2 separate regions of the Homo sapiens genome follow, and region 1 is linked to region 2. The links are contacts of gene promoters, found by promoter capture Hi-C in blood cells and fetal thymus (Javierre and others, 2016). All regions are on one chromosome and are shown on one strand. Each heading gives the region's core, a stretch centred on a gene start or on the middle of the fragment in contact. The rest is flanking DNA. Distances are from core to core; before and after follow the strand shown.

Evidence for each region. The method cuts DNA at HindIII sites, captures the fragments that hold promoters and counts their contacts. A CHiCAGO score of 5 or more calls a contact.
Region 1: a fragment that was not itself captured here is called in contact with the fragment with the promoter of MPV17L2 in region 2 in 2 of 17 cell types (monocytes and total B cells); the score reaches 5.8 in monocytes.

Annotation. Positions count from the first base shown.
Region 1 is chr19:18,300,697-18,307,201 of GRCh38, reverse strand. LSM4 (LSM4 homolog, U6 small nuclear RNA and mRNA degradation associated) reads left to right here. Exons shown (of 5, transcript NM_012321.5): 5 at 1-966. Among named protein-coding and RNA genes, the nearest start is that of LSM4, 19 kb to the left of the region's middle. RefSeq lists enhancers at 1-261, 1,728-2,233, 2,124-2,503 and a cis regulatory region at 5,733-6,152. The HindIII fragment of the contact is 1,810 bases long and covers 395-2,204 here.
Region 2 is chr19:18,191,288-18,197,044 of GRCh38, reverse strand. It overlaps MPV17L2 (MPV17 mitochondrial inner membrane protein like 2), which reads right to left and starts at 3,827. Exons shown (of 5, transcript NM_032683.3): 1 at 3,577-3,827; 2 at 3,011-3,181; 3 at 2,192-2,268; 4 at 1,959-2,087; 5 at 97-1,046. The coding sequence starts at 3,763. The coding sequence ends at 990. RAB3A (RAB3A, member RAS oncogene family) reads left to right here. Exons shown (of 5, transcript NM_002866.5): 5 at 1-261. RefSeq lists an enhancer at 3,683-3,732 and a silencer at 4,123-4,302. The HindIII fragment of the contact is 3,564 bases long and covers 1,275-4,838 here.

The sequences.
Region 1 (6,505 bases), core at 50-2,549, 110 kb before region 2:
GGCATCTTTCAAGCCCTCGCTCTGGTTCTCAGGGCAGCATTTTCCAGGCGGGTTTGTTTTGCATTTCTTGGAGCCTCTCCGAGCAGCAACCAGACGGGAGATTTTTATTTTAAGCTGTTCATGCTGGGACTGACAGCCTGCAGGGTTTCCTTGGGCGCGGCCCCAAAATTGCCTTCAAAACAAACCCGGGACGGTTGAAAGCCTTCGAACCGTGCAGGGGATGCCTCGGGCCCTGGCCCTTCGCTTCCTCTCTTGTGTTATGGAAATAAAAACAAATAAAACTACACACTGCACATCCACTGTTCCTTTTGAGCTTCTGGGTGCACCTAGCGGGTCTCCTGCCCTCTGTCCATCGCTGGACTCTCAGGAAATCCCCGTTCCCGTAAGGGAAGCTTCCTTTTGAGAGTTCTCACCAGGTGTCAGCGGCACAGTGAGGCACTGATGTCCTTTTACAAAAGGCAAGACCAGCATCTGGACAGTGGGGGCTCTTGAGAGTCCCCGGCGCCCCCCACACCAGGTTGTCCTATAACCCTCTCCCCTCTGTGGAGACGTTAATGCCAAGGGGTGTGTGGGGAGGGAAGTCCCAGGCAGGGGCCACGCATGGTCCCCATCACCCCCTCCTGGGTGGCCTGGACTCCATCATCTATCCTCATCTGTCCACACTGGCGTTCACACAGAGAAGACAGGACAGGAATCCCCTCGGAAGATGCTCATGGAAGATTCTCACGAGGCTCCTGCCCCCTTTCTGAGCCAGGCCGGGTTTGCCACTCCTCGGGCGCGCACCTGAGACACTGAGTCAGCGCTTTCGAGAAAGGCTCCGGGTAGCATCTGTGGACCGTGAAGAAACCAGAGGGAAGCCCTGAGCCAGGCAGCGGCCCGTCCCCCTGCATAGCCTTCTCTTCAGGGTCCTCGTTCGGAGACCTATTTTGAGAGGTGATTGGAATAAAAGGTCCCGTCCGTGAGGAACTCTTTTTCTTGAGTCTTCAGAGTTACTTGCCATCGTATAGATTTTGCATTTACAATGTCCTCGCCTGGGATGTTCTCCTTGTGTGTGGGGTGGGGGACAGGGATGGATATCTGCAGTCGCCTGAATCCTCTCCGCCACAGCGGCACTTGATTGATGGTTAGAGATGGGGCATGTGGGGTCCAGGATGTGGCCTGCCCTGAACCTCACAAACCCGCCCCCTCAACACAGGCAGGGGCAGCAGTTGGGGGCCCGGGCCTGGAAGCCTTGGGATGCACCGGCCCACGGCACCCACCTGCCTGTTGGACAAGAGCATTTTTTTTTTTTTTTTGAGACGGAGTCTCGCTCTGTTGCCCAGGCTGGAGTGCAGTGGCACAATCTTGGCTCACTGCAACCTCTGCCTCGTGTGTTCAAGCGATTCTCTTGCCTTAGCCTCCTGAGTAGCTGGGATTACAGGTGTGCACCAACACAGACGGCTAATTTTTGTATTTTTAGTACAGACACAGTTCCACCATGTTGGCGAGGCTGGTCTTGAACTCCTGATCTCAAGTGATCCTCCCGCCTTGGCCTCCCAAAGTGCTGGGATTACAGGCATGAGCCACTGCGCCTGGTCGACAGGAGCATCTCTTGGCACACCCCATGCCCCTACAGTGTGGGCCGTGCAGGGGGCTGGGCTCACAGGGCGAGGTGGGTGGGGCAATGTTTAGAGGAGGAGGGAAGGAAGGGTGGGGAGCAGGGAGGCCCCATTTGCAGCTCCTGCCCCATGTCCTAGACTCACCGGCCCTTAGAGGCCTCTGGGGCTCTCCAAGGGGCCTGGGCTCCTTCCTCCCAGGGGTTGTGTGTGTCACGAGGCGTGGATCAAATCCAGGAGCTCTGGGGTCAGGCATCCTGGGAAGTTGGGATGGGAAAGCCCTCGAAGGCCCCTTCCCCTTCCTGATCTCCGTTTGGTTTTTTCTCCCTGACCAGGCTCTGAACTCAGAATGTGTTCCAACACCCCCTAGGTGCCTTCTCACCATTCAGGGTCCCAGGTGCTGGGGCTAATCCCCGGGCTCTTTTGCCTGCGTAATTGTGGCTTCTTGCCGGCGCAGCCAGACGCAGAGCCGGCTCTGACCTTTCCAGCCCGGCAGCTGCGGGCTCCTGGCCCGTGACTTGAGCCGCAGAGTCCCCTCGTCTGCCTCTGCCAACTTGGCCTTGTGGGCTAGAGTGGCCCCTGCTTAGGGGCAGCCAACTTCCAGAAGCTTCCGGCCCCCCTCCCTCGAGCTGGGTGTCGGACCAGCTCTGTGTTTCATTCTTCCTGGTTGGTTTCACAAAGCCTCATCCTCAGCCCCCTCAACAAGAAAAGAAACCAAAAGCACCAGTCTAGTTCCTAAATCCAAGGCTTCCAGGTCTTTCTGTCCCTCCGATGGTCTGTGCCCTCCTCACCCAACTGGGGCTGCCTTTATCGTAGATGGTCCCCACCCGCCCCCAGACCTTCTCGCCTGGAGTTTGCTTTCTGTTAGGGAGGCCCACGCCTGGCGCTGTGCTGTGACTCAGCCGGGGGCTGAGCTCTGCAGGGCCAGCCCACAGTCCCCCGCCAGAGTGCGACAGGCCCGGGTCGGCTGCTGACGCCACCTCATCCTGGAGCCAAACACCCGCTTCAGGGACAAAAGTGCAGAGGCTGGCCTTGGGCAGTGGCCCCCGAGAGGCAGCTGTGGGAAGCCATCCCTCTCTCCTCCTCCTCCTCCTCCTTCTCCTTCTCCTCCCCCATCCCCCTCCTCTCACTCCCCATCTTCCTCCCCATTCCCCTCCTCCTCCATCCTCCTCCACTCATCCCCCACTCCCATCCCCCATCCCCCTCCTCTCTCTCCTCCTCCTCTCCTCCTCTGGGCTTCACCTGCTGTTCCCAGCACTACTCTGACAGCCACCCCCAGATGGCCTGTGTCCCTGTCACCTCCCTCCCCACCTTCTTCTTTTGGAGCCCAGGGCCTGGCACGAGCCTGGCACTAGGGCCACTTGCCTTGTCCCAGGTGCTGGTGACACAGCCCCGGCAATCCTTCCCTTCCACAGGAGTGAGCCAGCCACAAGCATATGCATATCAAATGCATAAATGCTGTAAAAAGAAGAAACCAGGCCAGGCGCAGTGGCTCATGCCTGTAACCCCAGCACTTTGGGAGGCCGAAGTGGGCGGATCACCTGAGATAAGGAGTTCAAAACCTGGCCATCATGGTGAAACCCCATCTCTATTAAAAATACAAAAATTAGCCGGACGTGATGGCACAAACCTGTAATCCCAGCTACTCAGAAGGCTGAGGCAGGAGAATCGCTTGAACCTGGGAGGCGGAGGTTGCAGTGAGCTGAGATCGCGCCACTGCACTCCAGCCTGGGCGACAGATCGAGACTCTCAAAAAAAAGAAAAAGAAACCAGAAACAGGGCGGGCTCGTGAGGAGGTGAATGAAGAGGTGGTCAGGGAAGGTGAGAGAAGGACACTGAAGATTCAGGAAGGGCCTGAGAGACGAGGGAGCCAGCCACCTTGGGAAAGAACATTCTGGACCAGCAGGGGTCAGGAGGACAGTCCCGTGCAAAGGCCCTGTGCCCAGGGGACACAGGAGCAAACAGAAGGGCAGGAAATGGGGAGGATGTGGGCCCTGAGTGACATGAGAAGCAGCCACAGAGGGTTCTGGAACAGTCAGAAGCAGGGGTGGAAGCAGGAAGGGGGCAGTGCTGGGGCCTCAGGGCAGGGAGGAGGAGGCTGCCAGGGCCTAGGCTGACCAGCTGGCCTTGCCCAGGAAGTGCAGGACCCCGAGGTGGCACCTCCTTTCCACAGAGCAAGAGGAGGCCGGCTGGGTGCTGTGGCTCACAGCGGCAACTGTAATTCCAACACTTTGGGAGGTCGAGGCAGGCGGATCACCTGAGGCCAGGAGTTTGAGACCAGCCTGGCCAACGAGGTGAAACCTTATTTCTACTAAGAATACAAAAATTAGCCAGGTGTGGTGGCACGTGGTGCCTGTAATCCCAGCTACTCAGGAGGCTGAGGCAGGAGAATTGCTTAAACCCAGGAGGCAGAGGTTGCAGTGAGCCAAGATAGCGCCACTGCACTCCAGCCTGGGCGACAGAACGAGAGTCTGTCTCAAAAAAATGATACTACTAATAATAAATTAAAAATTTTTTAAAAATTTAAGAGGAGGTCCAGTCAAACCAAGTCTCGAGTGGACAAGAAGCTGCTGGCCACACAGAGAGAGCCGGAACAGGTGGAGGAACTGCAAGCACGGAGCCTCTGAACTTCTGTGGGGAAGGGGCAGAGGGGGTCAGGGCTCAGGCCAGAAGCCCCTACAGGGCCGGGCGCGGTGGCTCATGCCTGTAATCCCAGCACTTTGGGAAGGCAAGGCGGGTGGGCGCCTGTGGTCCCAGCTACTTGGGAGGCTGAGGCAGGAGAATGCCGCGAACCAGGGAGGCGGAGCTTGCAGTGATCGGAGATCACGCCACTGCACTCCAGCCTGGGCGACAGAGCAAGACTCCGTCTCAAAAGAAAAAATAAAATAAAATAAAATAAAAAAGAAGCCCCTACAGGAGCTGGGGTGGGCACTTGCAGGGATCTGTTCCTGACGCTTGGCATCAGCCACTTCTTTTTTTTTTTTTTTTTTTTGAGACAAAGTCTCACTCTGTCGCCCTGGCCGGAGGGCAGTGGCGCGATCTCCACTTACTGAAACCTCTGTCTCTCAGGTTCAAGCAATTCTCCTGCCTCAGCCTCCCGAATAGCTGGGATTACAGGCGTCCGCCACCACGCCCAGCTAATTTTTGCATTTTTTAGTAGAGACAGGATTTCGCCATGTTGGCTAGGCTGGTCTCGAACTCCTGACCTCGGGCAATCCGCCCGCCTCGGCCTCCCAAAGTGCTGGGATTACAGGCGTAAGCCATCTCGCCCGGCCAAGCATCAGCCTCTTCTCAAGGAGACTTCGAGTGAGGGCGAGGATTCCCCGAGCTCCCACTCAGCCTTGCCGCTCAGCCCCGTGGGTTTCCAAAGCCACTTCCAACCCAGCACCTCCGAGGGTCCTCACAGATGGAGAAATGAAGGCTCAGGACAGGCACACAATCCAAGCAACAGCCGATAATTGTTTTTTATTTTTTTTACAGATAGGGGTCTCACCATGTTGTCCAGGCTGGTCTCAAACTCCTAGGCTCAAACGATCCTCCCACCTTAGCCTCCCAAAGTGCTGGGATTACAGGCCTGAGCCAGTATGCTCAGCCAACCATTGTTTATCTATCATGAATGTGTGCCAGGCAGCTCCGGAACTCACCCATAGGGTGGCATCGTCATTCACTGCTCAGGCACAGAGAGGGTGAGGAACCTGCCCCAGGTCACACAGCAATGGTGACCTCCTCTTTCCACTGCCTCCTTAAACCTGAAGGATCCATTGACCTTCTCCCAGCTCAGGCACAGTCAGGACCCCAAAATTGGTTGGGAATAGGGTGTGGGGGGTAAGCAAGATCGGCTGCTGCTTTAAAACTCACTCCCCTGATTGTAACATCAGCTGAGGGACAGGATTTGAGGCACATAGTTAGGTGCCTGGAGGGCTTAACCCTACCGTGCCTCAGTTTCCTCCCTGGTCGGGGGGATAACAGCAGCTCTACCTCATGGGGGTTATTGGGCAGATTGCATGAAGGGAGGATGCCAGTAATCATTTTAGGACTGGCCTGGTATACAGCAAGTGCTCAATAAATGCTTGAAATAATCTAAGATGGCATCTCGCCTAGCACCTGTGGGGTGTCCAGAACCTCACGGGGGACCCTCCATCTTTACAACTATGGGGTTGGCGTGAGCAGCTCATTGTCCCAGGGCACCCAGGCAGTGGCCCCTCTGGATTGGCCAGTGCCATGGGGAATAGAAAGGCCGCTGTCCTCTGTGCCCTGGAGGCTGGCTTAGGAAGCCTGGCCCCAGGCCAGTGACCGTTCACCTTGCAGGCCTGCGATCCTGCCCTTCGAGCCGCCTCCCAGCCTGGGCCTGGCCTCTGCGGCCACTGGGCAGTGAGTGACTCACCCCTGCCCCGCCTCCACTGGAACCAGGCACCGAAATAGTCACCCAGCTCGCTCTCGGGAGTGGCCGTGGAAATATTTCAGGGCTGCATTCAGCACCTAAAAATACTCCTCACGTCCTCAAGTGTCTTCCCCACCCTCATCTCCCCTCCTCTGCACCACCAGGGCCAGACCCTCCTTGCCCCACCCCTCCAGCATCAAGTAACTCAGACATCCTGGCCCCAGAGCCTTCTCAAAGGTCAGCTTCTTCTGAAACCCCCTGAAATCTCAGACCAGGTTGGGGAGGCCGGGGCTCAGTGACATTGTCTGGGGAGACCTTCACTGCCCAGCAGTTTTCCTTAAACATTAAAAAAATGGCTGGGGGTGGTGGCTCACACCTGTAATCCCAGCACTTTGGGAGGCTGAGGCGGGCGGATCACGAGGTCAGGAGTTCAAGACCAGCCTGGCTAACACGGTGAAACCCAGTCTCTACTAAAAATACAGAAATTAGGCGGGCATGGTGGTGAGCGCCAGTAATCCCATCTACTCGG
Region 2 (5,757 bases), core at 2,578-5,077:
GGCCGAGGCCGCTGTTGGGGGTTTCCCTGTGTGGACCATGGGGATCAGAGTCTGGCCTGCCAGGCTCCTCTCCCCGTTTTCTCTTTTGGTGGGGGGGTGTGCTGTGGGTATTCACCACCCTGGGACCCCCCCCCCCCCCGCCCACCAGACCTGTTCTGACCTCATGAGTGTCAAACGTGCCCCCCAGTTCCTTAGGAGATGTCATGACAACACTACACGCACCCAATAAAGCGAATGGACCATCCATGTGTGTCCCTGTGAGCACCGGGTCCTGCCCACCCTGGTTTTGATCATCCACAGCATTTTCTTTTGTTATTTTTATTTTTCAATATAAATAGAGACAGGGTCTTGCTATGTTGCCCAGGCTGGTCTCGAACACCTGGCCTCGAGCAATCCTTCCACCTCAGCCTCGGGAAGGGCTGAGATTACAGGTGGGAGCCACTGCGCCCAGCCAGCAGTTTCAGTTACATTATAGAGAGAGTTTAATGGCATTTCCACAGTTCAGGACCAGGGAAAGAAACACAGAGGCTGCCTGGCCCTATGTGAAACTTTTGGGGGCCGACTCCAGGCCTGAGCCTGCTCTGAGGGGATCAGTCATGTCCCCGCCTTAGTCCCAGGACCTGAGGGAGCTCTGGATTGGTGGCTTGGCCCAGAGCCAGGTGGATGGCAGTGTTGAGGGGCTGGTGCTTGAGACTGGTTGGCAGAGTGGGCCCTGTGCTGAGGATGGGACATCTTGGTCACAGGTCGCATGAGGTTCCTGCTGAGAAGGGCTAGGGGATGATCATCCATCTTCATGGGTGTGTTCCGGTTGAGGAAACTCAGTCCCAGAAGTGAGCTTGGAAAGGGCGGCTCAGCCCAATGCTCCGGAGCTGAAGTGGTGCTGGGACGTGGCTCAAGACCCGAGCTTGCTGCAGGAGCCCATTCCCCTTCTGTCAGAGGGGGTGGTCCGCCAGGAGACAGTCTTGCATCTGGTCCAGGAAGCAGACAGTTCAGTCTGCTCGGGTGTCCAGGGCCACACAGCCTGGGGGTGTCAGAGGAACTGGGCTCTGTCCACACAAGACAAGGCATCTGGTCAGAAGCCTGGCTCATCCCTCCCTGTCCCTCTACCTGCCCTTGGGCCAGAGGTCAGCCCTGCTCAACAGACTTGGCAGGGACCGGGCTGAGGTCACATCAGACAGCAGAGAAGGGTTGGGTCTTTTTGTTTGTTTGAGACGGAGTCTCGAACTGTCGCCCAGGCTGGAGTGCAGTGGCGCGATCTCGGCTCACTGCAAGCTTCGCTGCCCGGGTTCAGGCCATTCTCCGGTCTCAGCTTCCGGAGTAGCTGAGACTACAGGCGCCCGCCACCACGCCCGGCTAATTTTTTTTTTGTATTTTTAGTAGAGACAGGGTTTCACCATGTTAGCCAGGACGGTCTCGATCTCCTGACCTCGTGATCCGCCTGCCTCGGCCTCCCAAAGTGCTGGGATTACAGGCGTGAGCCACCGCGCCCGGCATGGGTCTTTTTTTTTTGAAACGGAGTCTCGCTCTGTCACCTAGGCTGGAGTGCAGTGGCATGATCTTGGCTCACTGCAGCCTCTGCCTCCTGGGTTCAAGCAATTCTCCTGCCTCAGCCTCTCAAGTAACTGGAATTACAGGTGCGTACCAGTAATTTTTTGTATTTTTAGTAGAGAAGGGGTTTCACCATATTGCCCAGTCTGCTCTCTAACTCCAATTTCAGGCGATCCACCCGCTTCGGCCTCCCAAAGTGCTGGGATTACAGGCATGAGCCACGGCGCTCAGCCACGGCTGGGTCTTAACTGCTAGTGAGGAGCTCTCCGCCAGCCCACTGTTGGGTGTGGGTTGTCAGGAGCACAGGAGACTCCCACCCTCCAGGGTGGCTGGCTACACTGCCACTTGGAGCTCACACGTGTAGCCCCCTGGGGAGTCCCCTGGGTGCCTGGTATGCCCTCCACACTCACCCGGTACTTCAAGTAGGACAGGTACGTGTCCCAGCCCAGCGTCAGGCCGTTGATGTAGGTGACTCGAAATTGGGGGGGCACGAAGAGGAAGTTCACGAACTGCGCAGCAGGCCACACGCACCAGTCTGCCTGCGGGGAGAGGCGGGGGATGAGGGGCGGGGCCAGAGCTGGGCGGGGGCGGAGCGGCCATCAGGGGGCGGGGCCGGACATGTGCAAGGGGCGGGTGCTCCCACCTTGTAGAATTCCCAGAACTTCTCCCGCAGCTCCTGGCAGCTCTCACCCACTGTCTGACCCTCCAGGCAGCCAAGGCCTGGGAAGCAAACCAAGAAATGAGAGTGTTAGAGGCCAGGAAGTACTGTTGAGACGACAAGATGGGCTGACGATGGAGGGGGCGGGGTTGGGCCCCTGAGAGCCCACGCCGCCCACCCCGGGCAGAGGGACAGGGACTTTCAGATGGGATGGACAGAGAATTAGGGTAGCTGGTGTAGAGACAAAACAGAGCAAGTCAGTCCCAGTGAGAGAAAGAGAGGTTATAAACATATAAACACGTGCCCCAATGGAGACACCCTGAAGTTGAGGGAGTTGTGTTACTTTTCCATCACAGACCAGGAAGCCGGGCTGGGAGGTGGAGAATGAGAGACTCCTCTATTAATACCGCTGTCTTTACCGAGCCTAGGGCTGGCACGGTTGCACCCCATTAAGTCTAGCCTCAATTTCTCTTCCTTCAGGCCTCAGAGCCTTTGCATTAGCTGTTCCCTCTGCCCGCTGGTTCCCTCTTCATGTCTCAACTGAGTGTGGTCCCCTTCTTTGGGAAATGCTCTCAACCTCCCGCCCAGGGCAGCCCCAACAGATACAGTCCTCGTCCCTCCTACACTCGCCAGCGTTCACATCGGCCGAGTCCGTCCTGTCCCCGCTGTGACCTGGCTCCTAGTCCAGGGCGACCCAAACAGGGGGCAAATTGGAAATGCACCTCTGCATCCTTCTTAACACAAAGCTGGCTCCACCCCTCCCGACCTATGAGAGGCAAAGCCTAGGCTTAGGAGGCTCCTTACCCAAGAAGTACCAGACGCCCAGCAATGGAGAGGCTACCAGCTGATCCACGAGGACCTTCTTGAGGACATTTGGGAAGCCTCGGAGGCCAGACGCAGGGAATAGGCGGTCCAGCGACAAGTACCAGTAGTGCAGGAAGGGACCCATGCTGCAGCCCACCGCAAACATGCTCGCTATAAGAGTGTAAGTCAGGGGGCTGGGTCGGGCCGGCAAGTTCCTCAGTCCATTCCCTCTCTCCCTCCCTGGCTAAGGCCTGGGTAAGCCCAATGCCATCCCGGAGCCTCAGCCTCACCGGGAAAACCGGAAGAGCCCACCCGTGCATTCTTCCACTACAAGCCCCACCAGGAGGCGCGGCTCCAGAGGCTCCTGGGTAGTGGGCAGAGACCTCCGGGGGTTGGGAGGTGATGGAGACCCAGAGCTGCGGGGAGACAGACACCCGGGGAGAGGCGCGGTCAGGGCAAGGGTCCTGCGGGGGACTGAGGCCACGGGTCAGGGGTCACGGCCCGCAGTCGGGTGTCGGGATCAAAGGTCGCCCGGGGTGAAGGACTAAGCAGCGTGGCGTCCTCACCGGAGCGCCGTGGGTCGAAAACCTGGCCGGGCCGGGCGCGGATCTCCCAGGACTGGCGCACGCCATCACCGGCCGCCATGAGCGCGCCGCAGCCCAGCGTGTTAGTGACGAGCAGCGCGCGGCCCTGGAATAGAAGCTGCCCCGCGGATAACAGGCGGCGTAGCCGGCGCCAGCCACCCCGCGCCATCGCCCTCAGGAACCAAGGAACCGGCGCGCCGCTCTGCTTTCGCCGCGCCGACCAGTCGCGAGTCACTGTCGATCCCAAATTGCCCGCCCCTCCGGCTCCCCGGCCAATCGCATAAGGATCTTCAGTCCGCAGGTCCGCCCCGAGCCGCGACGCGTTCACCAATCGCAGGCAGCCTCGGGGAGCCACATTGCCCGGCCCGAAGAGTATTGACCAATAAAAGGCAGGCGTTCTATCCCAAGGTCGAGCCCCCAACGACCTCCCGAGCTTCACGGACCAATCGGAAAAAAGAATTGCGTTACGTCCCGCATGCCGATTGGTAACGTTGCACTCTTGTTTCCCCGCCCCTTTCTGTGCCAGCCTATGGGAAACCGTCGCAGCCCCGTCCTACCGACACGCCCAGGACGGCACTGGCCAGTCGCAGACCGGCGTCACGCTGGCAAATCAGTGACCGTCGTCCCGCCTCCCGCGTTAGGGTTGGTCAATCTTAGGCAGTTACAACGCCTTCTGGCCTGGTTGCCCTACGTATTTCCAGATTCTCCTGGACTTAACCAGAAGGGATGTGATCTGTGGCCAGAAACAATTATATCCTAATTATACCGTTCCCGTAGGGAACAATTATTTTTTTTCTTTTTTTGAAATGGAGTCTCGCTCTGTCACCCAGGCTGGAGTGCGGTGGCGCGATCTCGGCTCACCGCAACCTCTCCCTCCCGGGTTCAAGCGATTCTCGTGTCGCAGCCTCCCAAACAGCTGGGATTACAGGCACGGGCCACCACGCCCAACTAATTTTGTATTTTTGGTCTAGACAGGGGTTTTGCCATGTTAGCCAGGCTGGTCTCGAACTCCTGACCTCAAGAGATCCACCCGCCTTGGCCTCCCAAGGTGCTGGGATGATGATAGGCGTGAACCACCGTAACTGGCTTAAAAAATGATTTTCAATGGAAATCCCTATGCATTCTCTACTAGAGTCGCAAACTACTGCCTGTGGGCTGTTAACTGTTGAAGGTGTGCAGGTTCTTGGCATCTTGAACAAAGAATTGGACAAAGTGCACAAACAAAGCAAGGAAAGAATGAAGCTTAACAAAAGCAGAGATTTATTGAAAACGAAAGTACACTCCGCAGGGTGGGAGCCAGTGGAGCATACGGACTCAAGAGACCTGTTTAAGAATTTTCTGGGGTTTAAATGCCCTCTAGAGGTTTTCACTGGTTACTTAATGTACGTCCTATGTAAATGAAGAGGATGAAGTAAAGTTACAAAGTCATTTACTGGATGTATGCCCTCTTTAAATGGAGAAGATATTTCCTGTCATAGCTGAATTGTTTCCATTTGATTTGGCCTTATGTTCCCTGCCTCCAGACCTATTCTCCTGCCTCAGGGCCAAATCCTGTCCCTGCCTGTTTTGTGCTGCTCATGATGAGCTAAAGGTGTTTCTTACATTTTTTAAATGGTCAGTCAAGAAGGTGGGGATTGGCCAGGCGCAGTGGCTCACGCCTGTAATCCCAAACAGTTTGGGAGGCGGAGGCAGCTGGATCACCTGAGGTCAGGAATTCAAAACCAGCCTGGCCAACATGGTAAAACCCCATCTCTATTAAAAATACAGAAATTAGCCAGGGGCGTGGTGGTGGGCGCCTGTAATCCCAGCCACTCGGGAGGCTGAGGCAGGGTAATCTCTTGAACCCGAGAGGTGGAGGTTGCAGTGAACCGAGATAGCTCCAGTCTGGGCCACAGAGCGAGACTGTCTCAAAAAAAAAAAAAAAAAAAAAAAAAAAAGGCTGTGCCTAGGGCCGTGGTCACTCACGTTTGGCTCAGAATTAACCTCTTTAAATATTTTACGGAGTTTCTTTTTTTTTTTTGAGAGAGTCTCGCTCTGTGGCCCAGGCTAGAGTGCAGTGGCGCGATCTTGGCTCACTGCAAGCTCCACCTCCCGGGTTCACGCCATTTTCCCGCCTCAGCCTGGCGAGTAGCTGGGACTACAGGTTCCCGCCACCAAACCCGG